Linked DNA regions of Homo sapiens: all the other regions are linked to region 1. The links are contacts of gene promoters, found by promoter capture Hi-C in human tissues and cell types (Jung and others, 2019). All regions are on one chromosome and are shown on one strand. Each heading gives the region's core, a stretch centred on a gene start or on the middle of the fragment in contact. The rest is flanking DNA. Distances are from core to core; before and after follow the strand shown.

Region 1 (4,217 bases), core at 900-3,399:
CTAGAGTGACCATCTGGACCTCTCTGGGCAGCTCTTTGGGTGGCAGTTGTAGGATCAGGTACTTGCTCAAGCACTGCATCCTCATCACTCCCCAGCTTAGAGTGAGGCCAATTCAGATGCTTAATCAACTTCTCTTTTCCATCTCCTGTAGTTCAAACGGCATTTTGCCCCCATCTCCCTCCAAAGTGGCAGATATCACAATGCCATGCGTTTGCACAAGCCAGTCCCTCTAACAGCAGATGTGATCCTGAGGCTGGGCTCCTGAGTTGCTCCCCACTTGGGAGCCCTGTATGGGATGAATTGCATCCCCTCAAATTTATGTATTGAAGTCCCAACCCCCAGTACAGTACAGCCCCCTTATCCAAGATTTCACTTTCCAAGGTTTCGGTTACTCTCAGCCAACTGCAGTCCAAAAATATTAAATAGAAAATTCCAGAAATAATTCATTAGTTTGACATTGAGCATCCTCCTGAGTAGCATGATGAAATCTCGTGCTGCCCAGCCCACCAGGAACACGAATTGTCTAGAATATCCATGTTGTCTCTACTACCGGCCTGTCCGTCACTTAGTAGCTGTCTCATTTATTGGGTCCAAAAACCATAGTATATGTAGGGTTCAAAACGATCTATGATTTCAGGCATCCACTGGGAGTCTTGGAACGTATTCCTAGCAGACTGGGGGGGGACTACGGTATCTTAGAATGTGACTGTATGTGGAGATAGGGTCTTTTTTTTTTTTTTTTTTTTTTTTAAGACAGAGTTTCGCTCCTCTTGCCCAGGCTGGAGTACAATGGCACGATCTTGGCTCACTGCAACCTCCACCTCCTGGGTTCAAGCAATTCTGCCTCAGCCTCCCAAGTAGCTGGGATTACAGGCGCGTGCCACCATGCCCAGCTAATTTTATATTTTTAGTAGAAACAGGGTTTTTCCATGTTGGTCAGGCTGGTCTTGAATGCTTGACCTCAAGTGGTTCACCCTCCTCAGCCTCCCAAAGTGCTGGGATTACAGGTGTGAGCCATCATGCCCTGCTGGAGATAGGGTCTTTAAAGAGCTGATTAAGCTAAAGTGAGGCCATGGAGGTGGGCCCTAATCTGATATGATTGTGTACTTATAAGAAGAGGAGATGAGGACACAGATGTACACAGAGGGAAGAGCACATGAGGAGACAGGGAGAAGATGCCACCTAGAAGCAAAGAAGAGAGGTCTCAGGAGAAACCAGCCCAGCTTCCAGAGCTGTGAGGAAATAAATCTGTTATTTAAGTCCCCAGCCTGTGGTGGTTTGTTATGGCAGCCCTAGCTGACTAAGACACAGCCCGATTGGTTGGTTCTGACACTTCTTACCACAGTTCACTGCATTCTCTTCACTGAATTGCAATTATCTGTTGGCGTATTGGGTTGGCCCGCTGGGGTGACAGGCCTGGCATATGCACTTTTATTATCTCTAGCACTGAGAAACCCTGGCATTGATAGCTGCATGCGAAGTGCTTGCTGAATTCATGAGAGCTACTGCTGCAGTGAAAGCTCTGAAAGTGTCCAGAGAGGGACAGGAATCTTCTCTTTGGGCAGAAGTGATCTTTTCACTTCACTTGCAAAGTACATCAGATGGAAAGGTAGCCCAGGTGTACGGTGTTGAGGAAGGGCCTACTGGAAGCTGCTTTTCCTAATTTTCAGCTGGTGAGGTTTGATGATTTGGTAGACTCACTGATCATTTTGTTCTTTTTTGGGTTCTGTGGTGTTAGTAAATGGCTATATTTAGATTCAATTTCTCTTTCTTGTACTCTTTGTTGTTCTGCCATTCTCTTCCGCTCCCAGTCCTGGCCCCACCGCTCCTTCTTCCAAAAGCTCCCAGTGGCCCTCCCAGACCTGCTGCAGGTGGAGAAAGTGTTCAGCTGCTGGTCCCCTCTCCCCTCCCACCCCAACTCCAACTGAGCACTAGCGGCTCACATCTGTGGGCCTTGCTTTCCCCATAAACACACATGGGTGTACTGCAAGGGCTTACCGCAACTCTGGTAGAGCACTTCCAAGCCGCTGTCGCTACAGACCACGTGTGTGGGCCAGGCTTTCCCACCGCCGCCTCCACTGCAGCTGGGAAAAATCAGAGTCCAGAGGAAGAGAGTGGCTGTGAAACCCTTCATGGTGGGGGCCTGTATGGGACACACAGAAAAATAACCGGCCAATAAAAAGCCTGTAAAATTTCTTCCTCTCCCCTCACCAAGGCAGTTGGATGTTCAGTTTCACTTCTCAAATTTTAGACTCGCTGGGAACCACAGTCAGAAGTAAAAGGCTGAGAGCAGAGGCATTTGAATACTGTTCCCCCAGGACCTTGAATCTACAGGTGTGGCTGGTCTGGTCTGGGGTAGGATGCGTGCTGACTTTCTGCTTTCACAGGGAGAGGGTCAGTAGTGATGCGTGAACTTACCTCTTGGGGGCCCCTCAGAACAGCCTCCACCCCCAGGTGAGGCTGTAAACTTGGGAAAGACAAAGCGCAGGCCACCATCTGTTTCCCATCTCCAGCCCCCGAGTCTCTGCAGGCTCTTGATGCAGGCTGTGTATGGACCCAGGGACCTGGCTGCAGCCAGCAGGCAGCAGTTGATAGCACGAGGGCTACAGAATGACATTTGGAATCTGGAATGAGGCTTTGGCCCTATTGTCACTTTCCTCTCCTCTGGCTTTGGCTCTGCTCTTAGGTTTGGGATTTTAGCAGTGAATTGTCCAGCTGCAGAACAGACCTTGTTTTGGGAGCTGCAGATGTGGTCTCTGGAGATGAGGCAGAGGCAATAGCCCTGAGAAGTGAGCCGTGTTCTATTTCTGGGTTTGGCTTGGTAGAAAAAGTAGGAAGGGTGGGGAGGTGGGGCCACCCTTAAGGAGGCTGGTTTGCTGGTTTTGGTGTTAGTGGGATCATTGACATCACATCTCACTTTCTCTTCAAAGCCAAGATTCTGTCTTCCTTCTTCCATGTATCTCTATTCTGCTGCAGGACAGCAAGGTTTCTCAGTCTTGATTCCTCAACCCCGCCCCAGCTTCACCTTAATGTAAGAGGACCAGAGTCAGTGCCAAGGTCAGCAGATTTCAGGAGCAATAGAAAACACTATTTTCCCTGGGAGGAACAGCATTTTTCTGAATGCACTAGGTAAATTTACTATTTCTGCTGATGGCTAAGCAAAAATTAGAGTTAGCTCAAAACTTTTTTTGAAATAGGTGGAACATAATTACCAATAAATTAATTGGTAAATAATTTGGATTTCTTGATAGACATCAGAGAGTGGTCATTTGGAGAAGGAACAGTTGTGGATTGATTATTTTTAGGTACCTCTGCAAATAAGTTCAGTGATGATGGCTTTCAACAGCAGTTCTCAAAGTGCGGCCTGGGAAGATGACAGCCTCAGCTTCCACTGGGGGCTTGTTAGAGATGCAAATTCTGGGCTACTCAAGACCTATTAAATCAGAAACTCTGGGGGGCGGGACTCACCATTCTGGATTTTCACAAGCCCTCCAGGTGTGCCTGATGCAGTCTCAAGTTTGAGAACTGCTGGCTTTTACAGAACATAAAGCGAAGGTTGAGCCCCAAGGGAGTGGTGGGAAGTTGCTCTAAGAAGAGACAAGGTGGCCCCTCTGGCCTGTGTGAGCGGAAGGCAGCTGCGCTGTGAGCAAGATCTCGGGAGATGAGAGTCTGAAGCTTATGGTGAGAGCAGCGGCCCTGGTGGAAGCGTGGTAGCCCCTAGAAGGTCCAGGATGGAACACAGAAGCTTTCCCTTGGGATATGTGAGTGCTCCAGCAGTTGTAAAGAGAGCTCTGAACATATGTGAGTGAGGAGAGCAATTGAGGGTGAGAACTTCCTTCCCTGCAAAGTGCGTCATGATTGACACTGGAGGAGGAGTCCAGGAGTGCAGGGCAGGGAGCAGAAAACCTAGCAGAGAGCTGTGGGCAGCTGTGGCAGGGAAATGGTCTTAGTATGTTCTGGCTGCCATAACAAATACCTTAGACTGGGTGGCTTAAATGACAAGCATTTATTTCTCACCATTTTGGAGGGTGGAGGTCCAAAGTTGGAGATTAAGGTGCTAGAAGATTCAGTGTCTGGTGAGGGGCCTCTGGTTCACAAATGGTGCCTTCTGGCTGTGCCCTCACATGGTGGAAGGGGCGAAGGGTTTCTCTTAGGCCTCTTTTATAAAGGCACTAATCCCATGTATGAGAGCTCCATTCTTATGACCTAATCACCTC
Region 2 (4,217 bases), core at 1,222-3,721, 600 kb after region 1:
AAAAACACAACAAATAAATTTAAGTCCTGTGGTAAGCAGAAAAACGTCCTTGCAAAAATGTCTGTGACTCAATCCCTGGAACCCGTAAATGTGTTAGTTAATGTGGTAAAAAGAGAATTAAGGTTGCAGGTGGAATTAGACTGCTAAATCGGCTGCCTTTAAAATAGGGAGTTTATCCTGGATTATCCCTAGAGGCCAATGTAATAACAAAGGTCTTTAAAAGTGGAAGAGGAAAAAAGAAGAGGTCAGAGTCATGTGATGGGAAGATTCAACCCACCCTTGCTGGCTTTGAAGATAGAGGAAGAGGCCAGAAACCAAGGAATTTGGGCAGCCTCTAGAAACTAGAAAAAAAAAAAAAAAGAAAACTGATTCCTCCCTAGTGTCTTCAGAAAGAAATGCGCCCCAGTGATTTTAGCCCAGTAACCAATGTCAGACTTCTGACCTTCAGAACTAATGGCAAGATAATAAAATCCTATTATTTAAGCCATCAAATTTGTGGAAATTTGTTAAAACTGCAAATAGAAAACTAGTACAAGTCATTATTTGCACTGTACCAGTTTAGTTAAGGGAACACATCACACCAGTGAGGCCTGAGGGTTCAGGATGTATGTGTACTAGGGATTTCTCAGGGCCCTTCTTTGTCCATGTGTGCATTCAGAGGAGACAGCAGCTTCATTTCAACGTGGGGTGATGGTGTTTGTGAGAAAAAGAAGACATTGTAGAATTAATTTCTAAGGACAAAAAACAAAACAAAACAAAACAAAAACCTTGTGTTGATTTTTCACAATGTCTCGTCATAGAATCTTTTTTTGTTATTTTTTCCCCTATGTTGTGCCCTTTTTAGCTGTAAGACCTTCCTGTTTTCTTTCTTTCCCTCCAGTAATTTAATGGACATGCAGTTCTATTAAAGGAGTTATTGGTTTCTGTAACCATCACAGGCCTGCCCAGATATGAAAAGTTCATTGTCACAGTGATAGATGACTTGAGATACATTCATGAAAAATCTATCACCAGGTAGTTATTCTCTCGATAAATCACGGCGACTAATATTAGCTACATACCTCATCACCTGGACAAATCACATGTTGAATTGCTTTTAATGGGGGTTGCATTTCCAACTTTTACATTTCCCAGGACACAGAAGGAATGGGTTCAGTCTCTATGGAATGCCTAGAATGAATCCCTTGCTGTGGATGTGGTAAGAAGGGAGAAACACAGGAAGACACCAAACCAGACAAACCTCAGGCAGCCACTGCCTTTCACATCGAGAGACACTCCTTAAAATAGTCCAAGTCCCTAGTAAAGAGGAGAAGGGAGAAAAGGACATGTTTGTCCATCCTTGATTTGTTAATCAAGTCACAAATTGCTTTGTTTACATTAAGACACCACCATGGGAGTCTCTTCTTGATTAAGAAAGAAGCAACACCAAACAAGCAAGCTTGTGGGGATGCCAGGCTGGATAATTAACTTCAGCGCGCCTTCCTGACCCGGTTGCCACAGACTGCAGTGCCTGGGCCTGCCTCAATCTTTCCATTTCCTGGGAGGGTCAGCTGAGCTTCAGCAAGTGACTATAAAAAATGGCTTTCATAGTCCTCAAAGTCCTCTGCTTGTCTCCTCAGGGTGTCACCTGAAACAAGTTGGATTGCGCTCTCACTGAGGCAGGGAGAGAAATCCCAAGCAAAGTGGGTCATTTAACTCTGGCCAAACACAAATTCTTCAAAACAGGCAACTTTGAAGGGGATAAGGAACATCAAAGCACATGGGAGGCACATCCATCAATCCCTGTCCAGAGACATGATGGTCCAGCCATGTGGCAGCCAGGTCTCCCAGAGGCTTGTATACTCTCAGCCGGCCTGGCAGTCATGTTGGTATCACGCACACCTTCCACCTGTTGCACTGCACCCTTTGTGCAGCGTGTTTTCCTGTGTAACCATTCTTCTCCCATCCTCTTGTAATATTTTCTGCTCTTTGGAACATAACATGGGGAAAACTGCATTTCCTCACTTGCTTTGTTTATTGGGGTTGTGGTATATTGTTTCCTATTTCTGAATAGCCCTTGGACACTTTTGTAGATGGCAGAGAAAAATGCCTCCAATTCTGCCCAAATCTTTATCTTCAGGAGTCACTATAAATTCAAATCCAAAATGTGCTCATGTGTACACATTTATACAGATGTTCATATATTCTCTAATTTAGATATTTTCTGGGACACAGATACATACACACACACACATACACACTGCATTTGCAAACCTGACCTTATTCCTTCTGATTGGCTCTTGGACCTCATCTTTTATCTTTTCCATTGGTTTTGACATTTTGTGTTTCATTCTCCACATGCTCCTTCCCCTGAGCTTACAAACACACTCAAATCTCTTATAGCCTAAAAAAAAAAAAAAGGCCTTCCCTGTCCATCCTTTTACTGCACGCAGCTGTTTCTCCATTTCTCAGCCATTTCACAAATACATGATTGTAAGTTCCTAGAACAGTGCCCAGCCCAAGGCAAACACTCAGCAGATATTGGGAGACTATATGAATGAAATCCTCTCCTTCCCCTTTTTGCCAGCTTCCTCCTGGCTGGCCTCCAGCCTGTGGCCTCCAGAGCCAGGTTCCTCCTTACCAATGGCAGACACTCCACTCTCATTGGCCTCCTCCTTTTCCCCCATGTGTATCTTACCCTTTAAACACTATTTTATGTATTCTATTTTTAAATTTTCACCACATGTCCACATTCACTATGGGAAAATTAGAAACTGCAGGTGACTCAAAGGGGAAAAATGTAAAATAGTCATAATTTCTTCAACCAGAGACACACATTTTGGTCTCAGTGTCTCTGGTATTAATTCTCCCATTTCCACATGGGTGTGAAAATGTCGTTTCCCTCCTTTAAGAACCTTCATTTCCTTCCCATTGCTGAATCATTGCTGAGTGACTCTGACTCCCTGCGTGACACCGAAGATTCACCAGGATCTGGTCCCATCTCATCTTGCCAGCCTTCTCCCCAACCACAGCCCTCTATGTTTCCCACGCACGTGCTACAGCCGTACTGACTTCCTTCTTGCTCCTTCAACCTATGCAACCCCTCCTCTATTCGATGCCTTTGCTTATTTAGTTCTTCCAGGCTAAAATGTATTGCACTTCCACCCCAGCGCCTCCCATCCACCCTTGCATGTCCTATTCCTTCAAGATCCTTCTCAGGCTCAACCTTGCATGAACACTTCCCTGATCCCCTGGTCAGAATTATTGGGATGGCCCTCAATAACCTCTTGTTGTTCTTAATTTTGTATCCCAATTAGAGAACTGCTGATCCGTTTTGTCTTTAAACCATACGTTCCTTGAGGTCAGGGACTATGTCTCACCCATCTTTGAACCTCCCACAGTATCTGGCACTGTGCCTGGCACAGATGATTATTGAGTAAAGAACATTTCCAGTCCTTACCACCTCACACATATGTAGTTGCATGTTCTAACTTTAAAATAAATAAAGGTGTTGCTAATGCCAACACTTCTCTGGGCTACTTCTTGCTAATGCCTTTTCTCCCTCAGAAACTCCTCCTAGGCAGCATGCGTGTGTATTCCTGGTGAGTAGAGGCATAAAATTGTTGGCTGCATGTCATGGAGTACCTACCAATGGTTAGAAACAAAGGAACAGACACATCCATGGCAATGCAGATAAGAGAGAATGAAAAAATGGTGGCTAAAACAAAAGGGAAAGAGAAAAGAAGCAACTGAATACATCCTGTTTATGCCTTTCAGAACAACTAGCTCAACATTTCATTAGCTTGTTATATTTTTTCACGGGCTACAGGGAAACCTGAAGGACTCATGGTCCTTCTTTCATTCCTTCTTTCTCATTCAAGGAACTCTTGAAATCTATAACTTTCCTGGCCCCTTGTTTGAAGAGGAGAGTTTTCCATGTCTCATCTTCACTCAGACTACGCGCTTATCATCTAATGCATACACAGTGACTATGCACATGGGATCCGGCCTCCAAAAGGGCCTCCAGTGAACTTGACTCCTGGTATATGTGCCTGTGTGTAGTCACTTTGCACAGTGAATCAGGGCTGGCTTTGTGTAACCAATAGAATATGAATAAATTAATGAAATTTGACTCCCAAGGATAAGTCATAAAAGGTATTGCAGTTTCCTCCTTAGTCCCTTGGATTACTTTATTTGGGGGACGCCAGCTGCCATGCCATGAGGCACTTAAGCAGCCT
Region 3 (4,217 bases), core at 1,131-3,630, 520 kb before region 1:
TTGGCCTCTATCTAACTCAGACTTCCGGGTTGAAATATGTCTTAGAAACTATACCTGCCTACTTGAAAAAGCACCAAATCTAGAGGATGATTTTCATGGGTGTGAAAAAACAAAACTAAACCACATTCTTTTCTTGGCAGTTCTCTTTTCCCCACCTTCCACTTCAATTAAACTTATTTCAGAATCAACTCGCACACATGCAGGGTCCACTACATATATAAAGGGGAAAAAAAATATCAAAAATAATGGAGATGCACTAGCAACTCTGCCTTTGCAGAAATCATTTCTTCTTAAGACAGAAATTCCTCGCTATTTCCAGCAACACCATTCAACAGGCAAACTTTATTTCCACTGGCTTTTAAAGAGCTAAGCTTAAATCTAAACTCTAAGAGGGTTCAATTTTCTACTAATGAAAACCCCCGGACAGGTTTTTCAACATACCAAAACGTTATATTTTTTTATTCACCCTTTTGTCTCTCTCCACATCCACCACCATCACAAGCAGCAGCAGCAGGAGCATCCTCAAACGAAGAAAACCCCTCCAAAGTGCCCCGAATGTGTGCTGCTGCTGGCTCTGAAGCCGTGTAGAATTTCGTAATGGAATGTGAACTGCTCGTCCGGATCTGGGCTCACGTTCTATCTCCTAACCAGTAAGGAGCGAGGGAGGGCAAATCTGCTGAGCAAGGAGAAATACTTTCCTCCTCTTTTATAACCCATCACGGATGCACGGCGGCCGAGGGGCGCGAGCTGCACGCGGCGCCTGTCAAGCGGCCCGGGCCCGCACCCCGTGGGGTCCCCGCGTCCCCCAGCTCCCCGCCCCGCCCGGAGAGAAAGGTGGCCTCGCCCATCGGTGGGCTCGGCCGACGCGCCCCGCACTCACGCGCGGCCGCGGAGCAGGTCACATCCTCGACGCGCCCTTGGCCCGGTCCAGAAAACACGCCGCTTCCCAGGGAGGGGGTCGGCGACGGGAAGGACCTCCCCTGCTCCTTAGCAACCATTAAGGTCGCAGTTTCCTAAGAGACCGCGAGCGGGGAGGGGGCGCGGGGGGCCCGGCCCAAGGCTTGTGCGGGAAGTTGGGGGCGGGGGGGGCAGCAACAGGCCCCCTCCCCCCACCCAGCTAGACGCCGGGGGCCGGGATGGGAGGAGGAAGGGAAGCCCCAGAACTCGTGAAAAACTGGTCCAGCGGGCGGCGGACAAAAGTTTCCGAGCGCGCTCCACAGCTGGGCGGCGGAGCGGGCCCCGGCGGCCGGCCCCGCCTCGGATGCTCCCGGCCTCCTTCCTGTGCTCGTGACGGCGCCGAGCCCCCCACCCCCCCCGCCCGCGAGGCAGGCTAGCTCCACACCGAGGGCTCCCACGAAAACACTCACCCCGCCAACGGAAGGGCGAGGGAACAATACGTGCCCGCACGGCTAGGGCCCGGTCCCCTCCTCCCCAGGCCCCCCGGGGCGGTGGTCGGCGTGACCACGACCGCCAGCCGGGAACCCGCGAGGGCGCGGGGCTGCCCGCGGCCCCCTCCCGGCCGGCGCCGTCCGCCCGGGAGGTTCAAAGTCCGCAGAGCAGGGCGCGGCGGATGCTCCCACCGAGCAGCCCCGAGCAGGCACCCCCGCGCGAGCACCCCGGGCAGGCACCCCCGGATACCTTAGGGCGGCGGCGGGAGGGCGGGCGCCGTCATCTCCGCGCTTCCCGGCCCGAGAAGGACTCGAAAGTATGTAGGAGAAAAGTTTCCCCTCCCACATGGGGGGGAGGATGTCGAGGGAGAGAGGGCGGAAGATGGAGAGCAGCGCTGGGAAGATGTTTCTGGCCGGCGGTGCGCGCACCATCCGAGTCCCGGCGGTGCTGGTTAAAAATAAACTCGGCGGCGCGGGTCGGGCCGGATTCCTGCGCTCGGACGGCTAATATGGATGCGCATCAGGTCCTGCTGGCGGGGCGCTGCGGCGGCTCGCGCTGGGAGCTGGTTGGCAGAGCCGGCGGCTCGGGAAAGGGAAAAGAGCGGAGGAAGGGGAGGAGGAGGAGGAGGAGGAGGAATGGCCCGGCGCGCAGCCCGAGGGGAGAGGGCTGCCCCGCTCATCCCTGGCCGCCCCGCCGGCCCGAGCGCACGCTGCGCGGAGTGGGGCGTGCGGGTCCCCGGCTCCGGGACACACCGAGTTTCAAAAGTACAACGCGCTCTGCAGACTTCACCCTCCCCATCCCCAAAGTTCTTTAAAAGGTCGCTCCGGCTGTGCCCCAGACTTCTCGCTGCCGCCGGCGTACCGCGAGTCGGAATCCGGGGCACGTACTTACGGCCGGGCAGGACGCTTGGCTCCCTGGCATGATGCGTTGGGGACCGGTGGGCTTCAGGGAGAGACCGAGGAGAGATGCAAACTTGTTCCGGAAAAGGAATCAAAATGGCGTTTCTGGATGTGCAAAGTTCATCAACTCCGCAGTCACTTCCCCTCCTCCTCTTCTCCCACAGGGAGGGAGGTGGGCGAGGAGCTGGCGACCCCGGCGCCCCAGCCGTCGTCCCGGCCCCCGTCTCGGCCCCCCGCCCAGCTTCCTCGCCCGCACGCTCGGAGTCTCGCTCTCCCCCTCTCACCCTGATAAGTAGACACATCACGTGTTGCTCCTGCGAGTCTCCTGGGGACGTGTTACTGAGCGGCCGCGGCGGCGGCGGCGGCGGCGGCGGCGGCGCTCGGACTGGGGGGGGTGAGGGGGAGGACCGCCGCCCCCGCCCCGACTTTAGCAGGGTGACCGCAGTTGCCATCCCGGGATGGATGGAGGTGGAGTCCCCTCCCCACCCCCCACCGCAGCCCCAGGTTTGCCCTACGCCCTCCCAAGGCGCCCCGGGCCATGGGAGGGCCGGGCTGCCCGAGGGGAAGGGTCCGGGAGGCCGCGACTGGCTGCGATCCCAATCGTCCCGTTGCTCGCGGGCCACCTTATTCGGCCACCGCGCCCCCTCCCCTGCAGCCCCTCGCCGCGGGCGACTCCCCGCCCCCGGCTTTCCATCACTTCACTCCGCAGTTTCACTATTTTAACGGAGGCGGGGGAGACACGGTGATGCCTCGGAATTGCGAGAGGGGCACCTCAGAGGCGCTGGAGTTGGGGGGATGGGGGGCGTAGGGCTCGGGGCCCTGGCCTGACGCCGCCCCTCTGGGTCTCCGAGGCATCTGCGAGGGGGAGCCCCGCCCGCGCCGTTTCCTTTCCACGCGGTCCTCGCTCTGCATCCAGGTGGGGCGAGTGGATGATGGGGCAGGAGATTAAGGAGCAGGCGCTTCACCCCGCCCCTAGCTTCGAGCCGTTTCTCTCCCGGGGCCATCCTTCTTACTCGGGCTGCCGCCCTGAGTGTGCTCGCCGTCTAACAAACTCAACTCCGACCCGACTTTGGTCCCCCTCCCTTACCCACACCCCACAAAGGATGCTTCAGCGGGGAACTGCCGTGGCCGCCAGGGGCTGAGGACGGTTCCTGCCGCCACTGTGTCCCCACCCCGCGATGGAATGGCTGATGCTGTGTCATCCACGTCGCCCTCCAAGGCTTCAGAGAAGCCACACGCAGTATCTCTTTCTCTCAGAGGGCTCCTGTTTCAACTCTGAAAAGCAGGGGCCCTTCTCCGAGCCGCTCTCCATCTCTCCAGCTCCTGCCACCACGCTTCGCACTGGCTGCCTTGCCCCAAGTTATCACGGAGCCCAGAGAAACCAGGCCTGGGCTGTGCTTCCTCCATAAAGCAGCTGACATGTTTCCAACTGTTAATACTTCTCCTACCGAGGTTCTGAAAGGGGTCTGTTCTCAGCCTTTGGAAACATCTTCAGAAAGATAAGGATGATTGTGGTTGTTGAAAATAAACACGCCCCCCCCCCCCCGCCCCCGTAGTTCTAAAGAAGAATGTCCAAAGAATACTACAGTAGAATTAAGCGTTTGAGTCTGGTTAGGCAAGATGATGTTATGCAGGCAGAAAGCTGGCTACTTTCTATTTACTATGACCTTTGACCCTGGCTCCACCACACCAGCTCCTCTGAGAAGGCTTGAACACCATGGAGAGTTGTAAGCCCAACTGTGGGCCTTTAATTTGAGCCCTTCCATTGACCTCTAGTTTTCAGGGCTGCAGACAGAAGTGTCTGTCTCGGGATGGGTCCTGGCCAGAATAGAACTCTTTAGAACCAAGGAAAAGCAGCTGGACCCTTAGGTCTGATATGAGATAAGTAGGCTAAACCACTGCCCAAGAAGGAGCTGATTCAGCTGGCTG

The links. Contacts are between HindIII fragments. The study calls those that stand out against the background at their distance.
Region 2: a contact is called between a fragment that was not itself captured here and the fragment with the promoter of LY86 in region 1, in 2 of the 25 tissues and cell types used here (heart left ventricle and lymphoblastoid cells).
Region 3: the fragment with the promoter of RREB1 here is called in contact with the fragment with the promoter of LY86 in region 1 in 1 of the 25 tissues and cell types used here (spleen).

Annotation. Positions count from the first base shown.
Region 1 is chr6:6,586,652-6,590,868 of GRCh38, reverse strand. It overlaps LY86 (lymphocyte antigen 86), which reads right to left and starts at 2,149. Exons shown (of 5, transcript NM_004271.4): 1 at 1,999-2,149. The coding sequence starts at 2,134. The region is part of intron 1 of LY86-AS1 (LY86 antisense RNA 1); the gene reads left to right. RefSeq lists enhancers at 3,623-3,752, 3,763-3,852. The HindIII fragment of the contact is 16,234 bases long and covers 1-4,217 here.
Region 2 is chr6:5,987,962-5,992,178 of GRCh38, reverse strand. It overlaps LOC105374898 (a long non-coding RNA gene), which reads right to left and starts at 1,293. Exons shown (of 2, transcript XR_926413.4): 1 at 1-1,293. The HindIII fragment of the contact is 8,341 bases long and covers 1-4,217 here.
Region 3 is chr6:7,106,124-7,110,340 of GRCh38, reverse strand. It overlaps RREB1 (ras responsive element binding protein 1), which reads right to left and starts at 2,380. Exons shown (of 13, transcript NM_001003699.4): 1 at 2,281-2,380. RefSeq lists silencers at 1,012-1,101, 1,122-1,611, 2,402-2,621, 2,682-3,161 and an enhancer at 3,512-3,571. The HindIII fragment of the contact is 13,967 bases long and covers 1-4,217 here.